Regions from separate parts of the Homo sapiens genome. Here regions 2 and 3 are each linked to region 1. Evidence: promoter capture Hi-C in human tissues and cell types (Jung and others, 2019). All regions are on one chromosome and are shown on one strand. Each heading gives the region's core, a stretch centred on a gene start or on the middle of the fragment in contact. The rest is flanking DNA. Distances are from core to core; before and after follow the strand shown. Region 1 has its middle 16 kb from the start of MAP4. Region 2 holds the start of CSPG5 (chondroitin sulfate proteoglycan 5). Region 3 holds the start of SPINK8 (serine peptidase inhibitor Kazal type 8 (putative)).

Region 1 (4,349 bases), core at 1,305-3,804:
GGTCTTGAACTCCTGGACTCAAGCAATCCTCCCACCTCAGCCTCACAAAGTGCTGGGATTACAGGTGTGAGCCACTGCACCTGGCCTAAGTGAAAAAAAATTTTTTATTTTTTGGATACAGAGTCTCTCTCTGTCGCCCAGGGTGGAGTGTGGTGGCATGATCTCAGCTCACTGCAACCTCCCCCTCCAGGTTCAAGCGATTCTCATGCCTCATACTCCCAAGTAGCTGGGATTACAGGTGTGTGCCACAATGCTTAGCTCTTTTTTTGTATTTTTAGTAGAGACGGGGTTTCACTATGTTGGCCAGGCTGGTCTCGAACTCCTGACCTCAAGTAATTCACCTGTCTTGGGCTCCCAAAGTGCTGGGATTACAGGTATGAGCCACTGTGCTGGGCCCCTAAGTGATTTTTTTAAATGGTCAATGTGTGAGCTGTTTTTTCCTTATGGTTTTCTCTGTTCCTTTTCCTTGCCATAAAAGTAAAAATAGATCTGGTTTCCTGGGTTATCACAGCTTTTAACAAAAAGCTTTTTGATAAAATTAGCTGTTGGGTCAGTGGGATGAGATCATTCCTTTCTAAGTAGTGTGAAATGTCCTCTAAGCATTTGTGAGACAAAGGCATGCCAGATAGGCTAACCACACAATAAGCCTAACTCTGTGGTTATGTTTAGGGCAGGAGTGTGAGTTTTCTGTGAAATAGAATACTACTGATATGTAGAAAAAGGTGAAAGGTACTTGGCACAATATGTATGCACTCTGGTTGGCCACGTGTAGAAAGAGATTAGAATGATAAAAGGGCTCAGGATACACTTGATATGAGGGCATAGGCCATCATTATCTTCAGATGTGATTAATTAACTGAAAATTGAGTAGCTCATCTACATTTGGATTAGTGCATCTTTAATTAAAAATTCTTGGCTGGACACGGTGGCTTACACCTGTAATCCCAGCACTTTGGGAGGTTGAGGCGGGCAGATCACCTAGGATCAGGAGTTCGAAACCAGCCTGGCCAACATAGTGAAAAAATCCGTCTTTACTAAAAATACAAAAACTAGCTGGCTGTGGTGGCGTGCACCTATAATCCCAGCTACTCTGGAGGCTGAGGCAGGAGAATCACTTGAACCTCGGAGGCGGAGGTTGCAGTGAGCTGAGATCCTACCACTGCACTCAAGCCTGGGTGACAGAGCGAGACTCCCGTTTCAAAAAAATTAAAAATAAAAATAAAAAAATTCTTAAGGACAGTTTGAAACTGGAGAGAAATCATAATGTACTTTAAAATGGTTAATTGTATGTTATGTAAACTTCACTTCAATTAAAAAAATTAAGGACAGCTGGAAAGAAAACTAATATACTTTTCTGTTTGTACAAAATAAAATGGTAGATTTAAGAAGCTTTAACCAGGGCTTCAACTTTCACATCATAGATACTAACTGTAGAAGCATAGTGCGATAACTGATAGTTAAATAGAAGATAAAAATCCACATGAGGAGGGCATGCCATTTTAAAAAGGAGAGCTATGTGATGCTATTTCCAATACATAGATATAGCTGGACTTACCTTCTTTATCCCTGAGAAACGAAAGCATTCTAAGTTAGCAGAGGAAATGATGATCAGAATGATAATACCTCCTACCTTTTCCCCTTGCTTCCTGATTTGGGATATAGGACAGAAAAGAAATTCTACTTTTAGTTGAGAACTCAGGGATGACTTTGAACAAATATATTTGTTAATCTCCTTGGACTTTTCTCACTTTTAAAATAAGGAGGTTGGATTCAAATGCCCTTTCTAAAGTTTTGTGATTTGGTTGGAAATATTAGATGTGCACATCACCAAGTTACTTTGTTTTGTTTCTGTGTACATGAATAAGCTTTTATTAGACTTGGTCACTGTTGTCTCTCTGTGATCAACAAGGGTAAGTTAGCTTCTAAGAGTACCAGTGGTAGAACTTTAAGATTTGAAGCTTTAACGAGAGTCAGCTAGTTTGCAGTGATTAGAGACTTGTAAGTTAATTGATATACACACTTTTGTCTATATTTATTAAGTTTCTCAGGGGAATTGTAGATTATTTCAGAGTGCAGTTTTAGGTCGTGGATCAGATTTAAGTTGGAAGTAAATAATGGTTATTACTAGAATTTTTTGTTTTTGTTTGTTTTTGAGAAGGAGTCTTTCTCTGTCACCCAGGCTGGAGTGCAGTGCCACAATCTCAGCTCACTGCAACCTCTGTCTCCTGGGTTCAAGCGATTCTCCTGCCTCAGCCTCCTGAGTAGCTGGGATTACAGGTGCCTGCCACCACACCTGGCTAATTTTTTTTTTTTTGAGACGGAGTCTTGCTCTCTTGCCCAGGCTGGAGTGTAGTGGTGCGATCTTGGGCTAACTGCAACCTCCGCCTCCGAGATTCAAGTAATTCTCCTGCCTGAGTCTCCCTAGTAGCTGGGATTACAGGCGCACACCACCATGCCCATCTAATTTTTTTATTATTTTTTTTTAGTAGAAATGCAGTTTCACCATGTTGGCCAGGCCGCTCGCGAACTCCTGACCTCAATTTTCATACATTATTATTAACTAAAGTTCATAGTTTATTTAGATTTCCTTAATTTTTACCTAAATACCTTTTTCTGTTCTAGGATCTCATCTAGGATACCACATTATGTTTAGTTATCATACTTAGCTTTCTCTTGGCTATGACAGTTTCTTACACCTCCCTTGTTTTTGATGACTTTGACAGTTTTGAGGAGTACTGGTCTGATATTTTGTAGAGTGTCCTTCAGTTGGGAGTTGTCTGATCTTTTTCTCATGATTAGACAGAGGTTATGCTTTTTAGAAGGAAGATCACAGAGGTAAAGTGCCACTCTTATCACATTATATCAAGGGTGCATACTATCAAATCATGTCAGCATGATTTATGTCTGTGTGTGTGTGTGTGTGTATGTGTGTGTGTATGTGTGTGTTTTGCTTTATCACTCAAGCTGGAGTACAGTGCTGTGATCACAGTTCACTGGAACCTCCTGGACTCGACTCAAGCTTCCTCTCAACTCAGCTTCCCAAATAGCTGGGACCATAGGCACATGCCACCAAGCCCAGCTAATTTTTTTTTGAGAAAGAGTCTTGCTCTGTTGCCCAGGCTGGGTTGCAGTGGCACGATCGTGGCTTACCGCAACCCTGGCCTCCAGGGCCCAAGTGATCCTCCCACCTCAGCCTCCCGGGTAGTTGGGACTACAGGCACGTACCACCATGCCTGGCTAATTTTTTTGTTTTTTTGTTTTTTTTTGAGATGGAGTCTTGCTCTGTCGCCCAGGCTGGAGTGCAGTGGCGCGACCTTGGCTCACTGTAACTTCCGTCTCCTGGGTTCAAGTGATTCTCCTGCCTCGGCCTCCCAAGTAGGTGGGACTACAGGCATGTGCCACCACACCCAGCTAACTTTTTGTATTTTTAGTAGAGACAGGGTTTCACCATGTTAGCCAGGATGATCTCAATCTCCTGACCTTGAGATCCCCCTACTTTGGCTTCCCAAAGTGCTGGGATTACAGGTGTGAGCCACCGCACCCAGCCTAATTTTTGTATTTTTCATAGAGATGGGGTTTCGCCATGTTGCTTGCCTAAGTTGGTGTCAGAACTCCTGGCCTCAAGTGAACCTCCTGCCTTGGCCTGCCAAAGTGCTGGGATTACAGATGTAAGCCATTGCACCCAGCTGATTTATCACTATTGATATTAGTCTTGATCACTTGGCTTAGGTAGTATTTGTCATATTTCTCTTACCCCCCCCTCCCATTTTCATATTGTACTCTTTAGAAGGAGGTCACTATGTGCTATGCACATGTAAAGGATGAAGGGTTATGTTCTACCTCTTGGAAGTGGAGTATCTTGTTTGGAATTCTTCACTGAAGACTTGCTTATTCTCTCTCATTTATTTATTCAGTCTATTGTTTATATTGTTCCAGCTTTGGTCATTGGGAACTTTTTTAGTTGACTCCTGTGTAATTGAGTTACCCCTATCTTTTTTTTTTTTTTTTTTTTTTTTTTGAGATGGAGTCTTACTCTGTCGCCCAGGCTGGAGTGCAGTGGTACAATCTCGGCTCAGTGCTACCTACACTTCCTGGGTTCAAGCAATTCTCCTGTCTCAGCCTCCCGAGTAGCTGGGATTACAGGCACCCACCATCATGCCTGGTTAATATTTGGGTTTTTTATAGAGACGGGTTTTAATCATGTTGGTCAGGCTGGTCTTGAACTCCTGACTTCAGGTGATCTGCCTGCCTTGGCCTCCCAAAGTGCTGGCATTACAGGCCTGAGCCACCTCGTCCGGCCAACTTACCCCTATCGTTGTTTTTTTTTTTTTATTTTTATTTTTAGCACT
Region 2 (4,349 bases), core at 996-3,495, 450 kb after region 1:
ATCCCAGCACTTTGGGAGGCCAAGGCGGGCGGATCACCTGAGGCCTGGAGTTCGAGACCAGCCTGAGCCAACATGGAGAAACCCCGTCTCTACAAAAAATACCAAATTAGCCGGGCGTGGCATGCCTGTAATCCCAGCTACTCGGGAGGCTGAGGCAGAGAATCACTTGAACCCAGGAGGCAGAGGTTGCAGTGAGTCAATATCACACCATTGCACTCTAGTCTGGGTGACAGAGTGAGACTCTGTCTCAACAAAAAAAAAAAATTCCAAATTGAAGGAAGCGTTAGCAGACTTCATCTCCAGGAAAGGGAAGAAGAAGATACTTAAATAATTAACAAAATATATTTAAAATGAGTGGGAGAACTTCCTCCATTAAACCCTGTTGAAAATGTGTGAGTGGTTGTCATGCCCCAGACATCAAGGAACCCATCCATGAGGTCTTCCCACACAGACTGGCCTCAGGAAGGGAAGGAGGAGGTAGGCCGCTCTGACAGCCACAACCCGAGTTGAGGAAACAAGCAAAGGAACACAGAGAGTCTACATACAGTAAAAGGTGACAGGAGTTAAGCTGCACACAAGGGAAGCAGAGATGGGTTGGAGGCAGTTAAGGGTGCGTTGCTGCCTCTGTGGCTGAGGTGAGTGCAAAGCCCTACATGGTCCCCTGTTTAGAGAAGGCTATTGTTTCAAACATATTTTACTTGGTCCCCGGAGGCAGCATGAAACTATGAAAGAAAGAGCCTTACCCCTTTTTTCAAGGCTCTCCAGACCACAGTTCTGGGATGGGTGTGGGTGGTTGCCATTCGTTCATTTATGCCTGTCTGATATGGAGCCTCCCTCTGTTACCAGCCCTGTGCACTCAAGTGCCTTGCAGTCCAGTGAGGAATAACTGTAGATAAGATGAGATGATGGGCATTAAGTGTAACTGCTGAGAAGCCTTCATAGAGGGAAAGGTGATAAGAACTGAGTTTTTCTGGCATGAGGAGTTTACCAGGCAGGAGAGGTGGAGACGCTAGGCTAGGCAAATAGGCTGCAGCCATAGTTCTGCTGAGAAACAGGTTTTGAACCAAGGCAACTCCATCTGGAGATATGTATCAGAAAGATTAGGAGATAGAATCTCCATCTTGGTCACTTATTTGGTCTTCTAAGACAGCAATGGGACCGTCTCTTAAATACTGGAGTTGTCCTATCTCCTTGGGCTGATACCCTGAACTGTCATTTGGGTGAGTAACACATTAAGGGGTAGACGGTCGGTTTGGGGGAATAAACTAAGTAACTAGGTTGCGGTTCCTCCTGCCGACTAAGCAGACCTCCTGGTGCGTGGTCTTGGGTTGCCCTGTGAGCCCTGAAGCTGTGAATGGGCCCCACAGATCACTCTAAAGCCAAGCATCCATGTGTGCCCGGCTGGGGATCTAGACCCCCCTGGTCTACCCAGGAACCTGAGTTTTGGTGGTCTGAGACACCTGGGGGACGACGTATCCCGGAGAAGGGACCAGGATTAAAGGCCGCTCCCCAGGCTGCCCGGAGACTAGAAGGAAGGCGAGGTAGCCGCAGTCCCAGGGAGGGTCTTACCCCTTGCTCCCGGGATGCGTTATGGCGGGCCTGGCTGTGCGAGATCTAGGCTAGTGGCTTTGGCTGCGAACGGATTAGATCTGATCCGATTAGAGCCTGGGCGGTCGGCTTCGCCCCCTTGCCAGGCTCTGCCAACGCCCGCCCCTCCCTCGTGGAGACCCGGAGACCTCCCTGAGAGCCTTCCCGCCCGGAACACGGGATTGGTGCAGAATCCGAGAGGCTCCATGCGCCCCGGGCCTGGCTTGTTTCCACAGTGGGGGCTCGTGCTTCCGCCCCCTGCGGCTCTTCTGGACCCCGCCCCGACCCTGCGGGTAACTGGGCCCGCGACGTCCCCGCCTCCGTGCTTGCCGCGTGGCGGGTGGGTTCCTCCGGGTCGGGGCCCCGTGCCGCCTGTTCACCTGGGGCGGGACCGTGGCCCCATCCCACAGGTCTCCCGCCCGTGCACCTGCCGCCTAACGCCGCGCGCCGCGCCGTGCGCCTGCCTCGCGCTCCCCGTCCGCCTGCCCCGCACTCCCCGTCCGTGTGTCTCCTAGTCCCCAGCGAGGGGTCTGTCTGTTCCCCTGGCAGGCTGACCAAGGGGCCGGCGTCACCGCTACGTGCGGCGGGGCCGGCGCGGCGGGCGGGGTGAGGGCGGCGCTGAGCGCAGCGGCGGCAGCGGCGGCGCGGGAGGCGGGGAGGCGCGGCGCGCCGGGGACAGCGGCGGACGGCGGCGGCGGCGGCATGCGGCTCCTCGCGCTGCCCATCGTGGGCTGAGGCGGCCGCAGAACCGGCGGGAGGCGCGGCGGCCGGGCGAGCCGAGGGCGCAGCCAGCCGGGCGGACCGCGGACAGCGGTCGGGGCGCCGCGCCATGGGGCGAGCCGGGGGCGGGGGCCCGGGCCGGGGGCCGCCGCCACTGCTGCTGTTTCTGGGGGCCGCGCTGGTCCTGGCCTCTGGGGCCGTGCCGGGTAGGTATGACTGCGCCCGGGACCCCCGCGGCCCTCGTGCCCCACCCAGGGCAGGGGTCCCGCTGGCGGCGGGGACAGGTGGAGCTGTGAGCTGTGGCAAGGGGGCGGGGCACCGCCTGGCCGCGGCCGGGCGGCGGAATGGTCCCAGGAGGTGGTGGGGGTCCGGGAAAGGCCGACCCGCGTGGGGGCCGACCCCGGTTGGGGTAGCCGGGACCCAAGCGCGCGGGCCGCGGTGCGGACTGGGGGCGGGGCCGGGGGCGGGGCCGGGGCGGGGCCGGGGCGGGGCCTGAGGGTGAGACTTCGGGGCGGGACCTGGAGCTGAGGGCGGGAGCCAGTGGACGCGGCTCAGGGTGGGTTCCCGAGGGTGAGACTTATGGGTGGGCCGAGCTGGGGGCCGCCCTGGCCTGGCTCTTCAGACGGCGGGGCAGGTCGGGCGGGGCCGAGCCGCGAGGCGTTGGGCGGGGTGTGATCCTCGTCTTGGGGGCAGACTCCGGGACGGGGCTTAGAGGTACCGGGTGGCTGGGGTCACACTGGGGCGGTGGGGTCTGAGGGTGGCGAGGTCTGGGTTGACCAGGTCTAGGCGAGCGGGCCTGACCGGGGCGGGCCGGGGCTCCAGGGCTCCTCAGCGCGCCGCCCTGACGTCCCGCCCCTTGCCCTCCCGCCCGCAGCGCGTGAGGCGGGCAGCGCGGTTGAGGCCGAAGAGCTGGTGAAGGGCAGCCCGGCGTGGGAGCCGCCTGCCAACGACACGCGGGAAGAAGCCGGCCCACCAGCGGCTGGGGAAGATGAGGCGTCGTGGACGGCGCCCGGTGGCGAGCTGGCCGGGCCAGAAGAGGTGCTGCAGGAGTCGGCTGCGGTGACCGGCACCGCCTGGCTGGAAGCTGACAGCCCAGGCCTGGGAGGAGTGACCGCAGAGGCGGGCAGCGGCGATGCCCAGGCCCTTCCAGCTACGCTCCAGGCTCCCCACGAGGTCCTCGGGCAGTCAATCATGCCCCCTGCCATTCCTGAGGCTACAGAGGCCAGCGGGCCACCCTCCCCCACCCCCGGCGACAAGCTGAGCCCAGCTTCTGAACTCCCCAAGGAGAGCCCCTTGGAGGTTTGGCTGAACCTGGGGGGCAGCACACCCGACCCTCAAGGGCCAGAGCTGACTTACCCATTTCAGGGCACCCTGGAGCCCCAACCGGCATCAGATATCATTGACATCGACTACTTCGAAGGACTGGATGGTGAGGGTCGTGGCGCAGATCTGGGGAGCTTCCCAGGGTCACCAGGAACCTCAGAGAACCACCCTGATACTGAGGGAGAGACCCCTTCCTGGAGCCTGCTTGACTTATACGATGATTTCACCCCCTTCGATGAATCTGATTTCTACCCCACCACATCCTTTTATGATGACTTGGATGAAGAGGAGGAGGAAGAGGAGGATGACAAAGATGCAGTAGGAGGTGGAGACCTAGAAGATGAAAATGAGCTTCTAGTGCCCACTGGGAAGCCTGGTCTGGGGCCCGGGACAGGCCAGCCCACCAGTCGGTGGCATGCTGTCCCTCCACAGCACACTCTGGGGTCGGTCCCCGGCAGCAGCATCGCCCTCAGGCCCCGCCCAGGAGAGCCAGGCAGGGACTTGGCCTCCAGTGAAAATGGCACTGAGTGCCGCAGTGGCTTTGTGCGGCATAACGGCTCCTGCCGGTCAGTGTGCGACCTCTTCCCAAGTTACTGTCACAATGGCGGCCAGTGCTACCTGGTGGAGAACATAGGGGCCTTCTGCAGGTAAGGGCATGGCAGGCAGGTGCATAGGGACACTGAAGAGTGTATGTGAGGCCGACTCAACAGAGGGCAGCG
Region 3 (4,349 bases), core at 983-3,482, 300 kb before region 1:
ATAGAGCTATAACACTCACTGCATGTCCCAAGTTTCCATTCCTTGGAATCCGTGAGGCCAAGAACCCCAGGTCAGAGAACAAAAGGCTTGCCGCCATCTTGGGAGCGGCCTGCCACCATCTCAGGAGCTCTAAGAACAAAGACCTGCCTGGTAACAGCTGTTGGCCCGTACAGGTATTCTCCAAAGTGGTGAGTAATATTGAACCACTTTAGCTTGCTATCCTGTCCTATCCTTCCTTAGAATCAGAGGAAATACCGGGCACCTGTCAGCCAGTTAAAAATGATTAGCATGGCCACTGGACTTAAGACTCAGCTGTGAGGCTTTCTGGGAAAAGGCTTTCTAACAACCCCCAACCCTTTGGGGTTAGGAGCGTTGGTCTGCCTGGAACCAGCTTCCGCTTTCACAATTTCCTGGGGGGAAGCCGAGGGCCGACTAGAGGCAGAAAGCTGTCGTCCTGAACTCCCGGCATTGGCTGGTTGAGATCATGGTGCAGCCAGAAGTCTCTACTCAACAGTTGCCCACGTGTGCACCCCTACCTTTCCTTCTGACCCATACCTCCTGGGTCCCGACCATGACTTTCTTGAAAGTGTAGCCCCAAAAATTCTCCTTACCTCTGAATCTACTTCCTCCAATCCCTGCCTCCTAGGTACTAATGCTTCAGACTTTCATTTCCTCTCCCAAGTATTAGAGCAAGTTGTATCTCCAAAGAGATCTAAGGAAGCTCTATGCTGTGGCCTTAGATATCTAGGCTATGAACCCAGGGAGTCTTGCCCCTGGTGTCCCTCCCAATTTAGGTATATAGCTGTCAACATGGGCTGTTATGTGGGACCCATTCCCCACCACCCTTGCCAGGGCCCCAAGTTTGTAAATAGCTAGGAAGATCGCTCTCCCATTGTGTAAGATGCTCTCCTCCCCTAATTTCTACCCAGTTTACTACCCCCTGCAATACAATCTCCAAGCCTTGGCTCCTTGGCCAGGCCCTTAGAACTGATAACCCAGTATTTTAACAACTGGAACTGAGTCTACAACAACATAATAGATCAGGATGAAAACGAATTTGAGTAAATTAAAGGGAGGCACATGTTCCTATAGTGGCAAACTGGGGCAACAAGTGAACGTCCTTCCACTGCGTTTCCAAAATCCATCTAAAAAAAGACAGACAGAGAGAGGAAGAGGCAGAAAGTCAAAGAGAGAAAGAAAGAAAAAAGGGAAAGAGAGAGGTAGTAAAGAAAAAACAGTGTACCCTATTCCTTTAAAAGCCAAGGTAAATTTAGAACCTATAATTGATAATTAAAGGTCTTCTCCACGACCCTATAATACTCCAATACTACCTTGTTGTCAGTGTAAACAAGGGCGTAGCCCGAAAACACTGAGACCACTGACAACCCATAGCCTTCCTATCAAAAATCCTGAACCCAGTAACCCGTGGATGGCCCAAATGCATTCAATCTGTAGTGGCAACTGCTTTGCTAACAGAATAAAGTAGAAAAATAACCTTTAGAGGAAACCTCATTGTGAGCACACCTCACCAGTTCAGAACAATCCTAAGACCAAAAAAAAAAAAAAAAAAAGGTAGCTTACTAGCTCAAAATTCTTAAAGTATGGGGCTATTCTGTTAGAAAAAGGTGATTTAACACCAACCACTGATAATTCCCTTAACCCAGCAGATTTCCTAACAGGGGATTTAAATCTTAATTGCCATGCAAAGGTCCAACCAGACCTAGGAGGAACTTCCTTTAGGATAGGACGATAGATGGTTCCTCCCAGGCGATTGAGGAAAAAACCACAATGGGTATTCAGTAATTGATAAGGAAACTCTTGTGGAAGCAGAGTTAGGAGAATTGCCTCATAATTGGTCTGCACAAACTGCGAGCTGTTTGCACTCAGCCAAGCCTTAAAGTACTTACAAAAAGAGCAAGCCCATCTTTTTCTCCTCGCTCTCCTTCTCGTAGGAAAAAGGCACATAGGATAAACAGGAGCCATCTCTCATATTTCGTACCCAAAAGGACTTAATCCAGGGCAACAAAATCTTAAGTTCGATAATTAAGGCATATTCCTACAAAGGAAAAGGACAAAGGCCCTAGTGGGCAAAAACTCTATCTCAATCCTGACTCAAAAGGTTACCTACACCCTCTCTGAAACGAATTTGCATAAGAACTGTTGTTTATGAAAATGCATCTTGATGGGGCAACTGGGTTGTTATGAAATACTCAGAAACCCAGCCCAGCTCTAGAACTCACTCCTGAGTGCAAAGGCAATGTCAGGCACGCTGGTAAAGGACCACTAGAATCCAGCAGCCCAGACCCCTTTCTTTGTGGTCAAGAAGGGCAGGAAAACAGGTGCAGGACTGCTACATCGGTGAGTGTAACTAATCTGATAAGCAGAGGTCCGTGGGTGGTTACGCACCCTGAAAAGGAATAAGCATTAGGACCACAGAGGACGCTCTAGGACTAATGCTCATCAGAAAATGACTAGGGGTGCTGGCATCCCTATGTTCTTTTTAAACGTTCCCCCCTCCCAGGCAAAAACGCCCCTAAGATGTATTCTAGAGAATTAGGACCAATTTGACCCTCAGATGCTAAGAAAGAAACGACTTATATTCTTCTGCAGTACCCCTGGCCACAATATCCTCTTCAAGAGGGAGAAACATGCCCTCCAAGGGAAGTATAAATTATAACACCATCTTACAGCTAGACTTCTTTTGTAGAAAATAGGGCAAATGGAGCGAAGTGCCATATGTGCAAACTTTCTTTTCATTAAGAGACAACTCACAATTATGTTAAAAGTGTGATTTATGCCCTACAGGAAGCCCTCAGAATCTACCCCCCTGCCCCGGCGTTCCCCCGGCTCCTTCCCCAACTAATAATGACCCCCCTTCAACACAAACGGTGCCAAAGGAGATAGAGAAAGGGGTAAACAATGAACCAAAGAGTGCCAATATTCCCAGATTATGCCCCCTTGAAGTGGTGGGAGGAGGAGAATTCAGCCCAGAGTGTGTGTACCTTTTTCCCTCTCAGACTTGAAGCAAATTAAAATAGACCTAGGTAAATTCTCAAATAACCCTGATGGCTATATTGATGTTTTACAAGGGTTAGGACAATCCTTTGATCTGACATGGAGAGACATAATGTTACTGCTAGATCAGATACTAACCCCAAATGAGAGAAGTGCCGCTATAACTGCAGCCCAAGAGTTTGGCAATCTCTGGTATCTCAGTCAGGTCAATGATAGGATGACAACAGAGGAAAGAGAACGATTCCCCACAGGCCAGCAGGCAGTTCCCAGTGTAGACCCTCAATGGGACGCAGAATCAGAATGTGGAGATTGGTGCCGCAGACATTTGCTAACTTGCATGCTAGAAGGACTAAGAAAAACTAGGAAGAAGCCTATGAATTATTCAATGATGCCCACTATAACACAGGGAAAGGAAGAAAATCCTACTGCCTTTCTGGAGAGACTAAGGGAGGCATTGAGGAAGCATACCTCTCTGTCATCTGGATCTATTGAAGGCCAACTAATCTTAAAGGGTAAGTTTATCACTCAGCTGCAGACATTAGAAAAAAACTTCAAAATCCGCCTTAGGCCTGGAACAAAACTTAAACTAAGAACTTGGCCTCAGTTTTTATAATAGAGATCAGAAGGAGCAGGCAGAACTGGACAAACGGGATAAAAAGAAGGCCACCGCTTTAGTCATGGCCTTCAGGCAAGTGGACTTTGGAGGCTCTGGAAAAGTGAAAGGCTGGGCAAATCGAATGCCTAATAGGGATTTGATTCCAGTGCGGTCTACAAGGACACTTTAAAAAAGATTGTCCGAATAGAAATAAGCCACCCCCTCATCCATGCCCCTTATTTCAAGGGTATCACTGGAAGGCCCACTGCCCCAGGGGATGAAGGTCCTCTGAGTCAGAAGCCACTAACCAGATGATCCAGCAGCAGGACTGAGGGTGCCTGGGGCAAGCGCCAGCCCCTGGCATCACCCTCCCCAGGTATGCTTGACCACTGAGGGCCAGGAGGTTAACTGTCTGCTGGACACTAGCGCGGCCTTCTCAGTCTTACTCTCCTGTCCCAGACAACTGTCCTCCAGATCTGTCACTATCCGAGGGGTCCTAGGACAGGCAGTCACTAGATACTTCTCCCAGACACTAAGTTGTGACTAGGGAACTTTACCATTTTCACATACCTTTCTAATTATGCCTGAAAGCCCCATTCCCTTGTTAGGGAGAGACATTCTAGCAAAAACAGGGGCCATTATACACTAGAATTAGGAGAAGAAAAAAAGGTAAATATCTATACAGACTCTAAGTATGCTTACCTAGTCCTCCATGCCCACGCAGCAATATGGAGAGAAA

The links. The method cuts DNA at HindIII sites, captures the fragments that hold promoters and counts their contacts. A contact is called where the count stands out against the background at its distance.
Region 2: a contact is called between the fragment with the promoter of CSPG5 here and a fragment that was not itself captured in region 1, in 2 of the 25 tissues and cell types used here (lymphoblastoid cells and pancreas).
Region 3: a contact is called between the fragment with the promoter of SPINK8 here and a fragment that was not itself captured in region 1, in 1 of the 25 tissues and cell types used here (stomach).

The regions. Positions count from the first base shown.
Region 1 is chr3:48,030,468-48,034,816 of GRCh38, reverse strand. It overlaps a transcript of MAP4 not described here. Among named protein-coding and RNA genes, the nearest start is that of MAP4, 16 kb to the right of the region's middle. The HindIII fragment of the contact is 3,193 bases long and covers 958-4,150 here.
Region 2 is chr3:47,576,761-47,581,109 of GRCh38, reverse strand. It overlaps CSPG5 (chondroitin sulfate proteoglycan 5), which reads left to right and starts at 2,245. Exons shown (of 5, transcript NM_006574.4): 1 at 2,245-2,513; 2 at 3,182-4,277. The coding sequence starts at 2,417. RefSeq lists an enhancer at 916-1,620 and silencers at 2,745-2,794, 2,835-2,894, 2,945-3,034. The HindIII fragment of the contact is 21,614 bases long and covers 1-4,349 here.
Region 3 is chr3:48,331,544-48,335,892 of GRCh38, reverse strand. It overlaps SPINK8 (serine peptidase inhibitor Kazal type 8 (putative)), which reads left to right and starts at 2,232. Exons shown (of 8, transcript NM_001080525.3): 1 at 2,232-2,358; 2 at 3,422-3,527. RefSeq lists a silencer at 1,687-1,887. The HindIII fragment of the contact is 10,965 bases long and covers 1-4,349 here.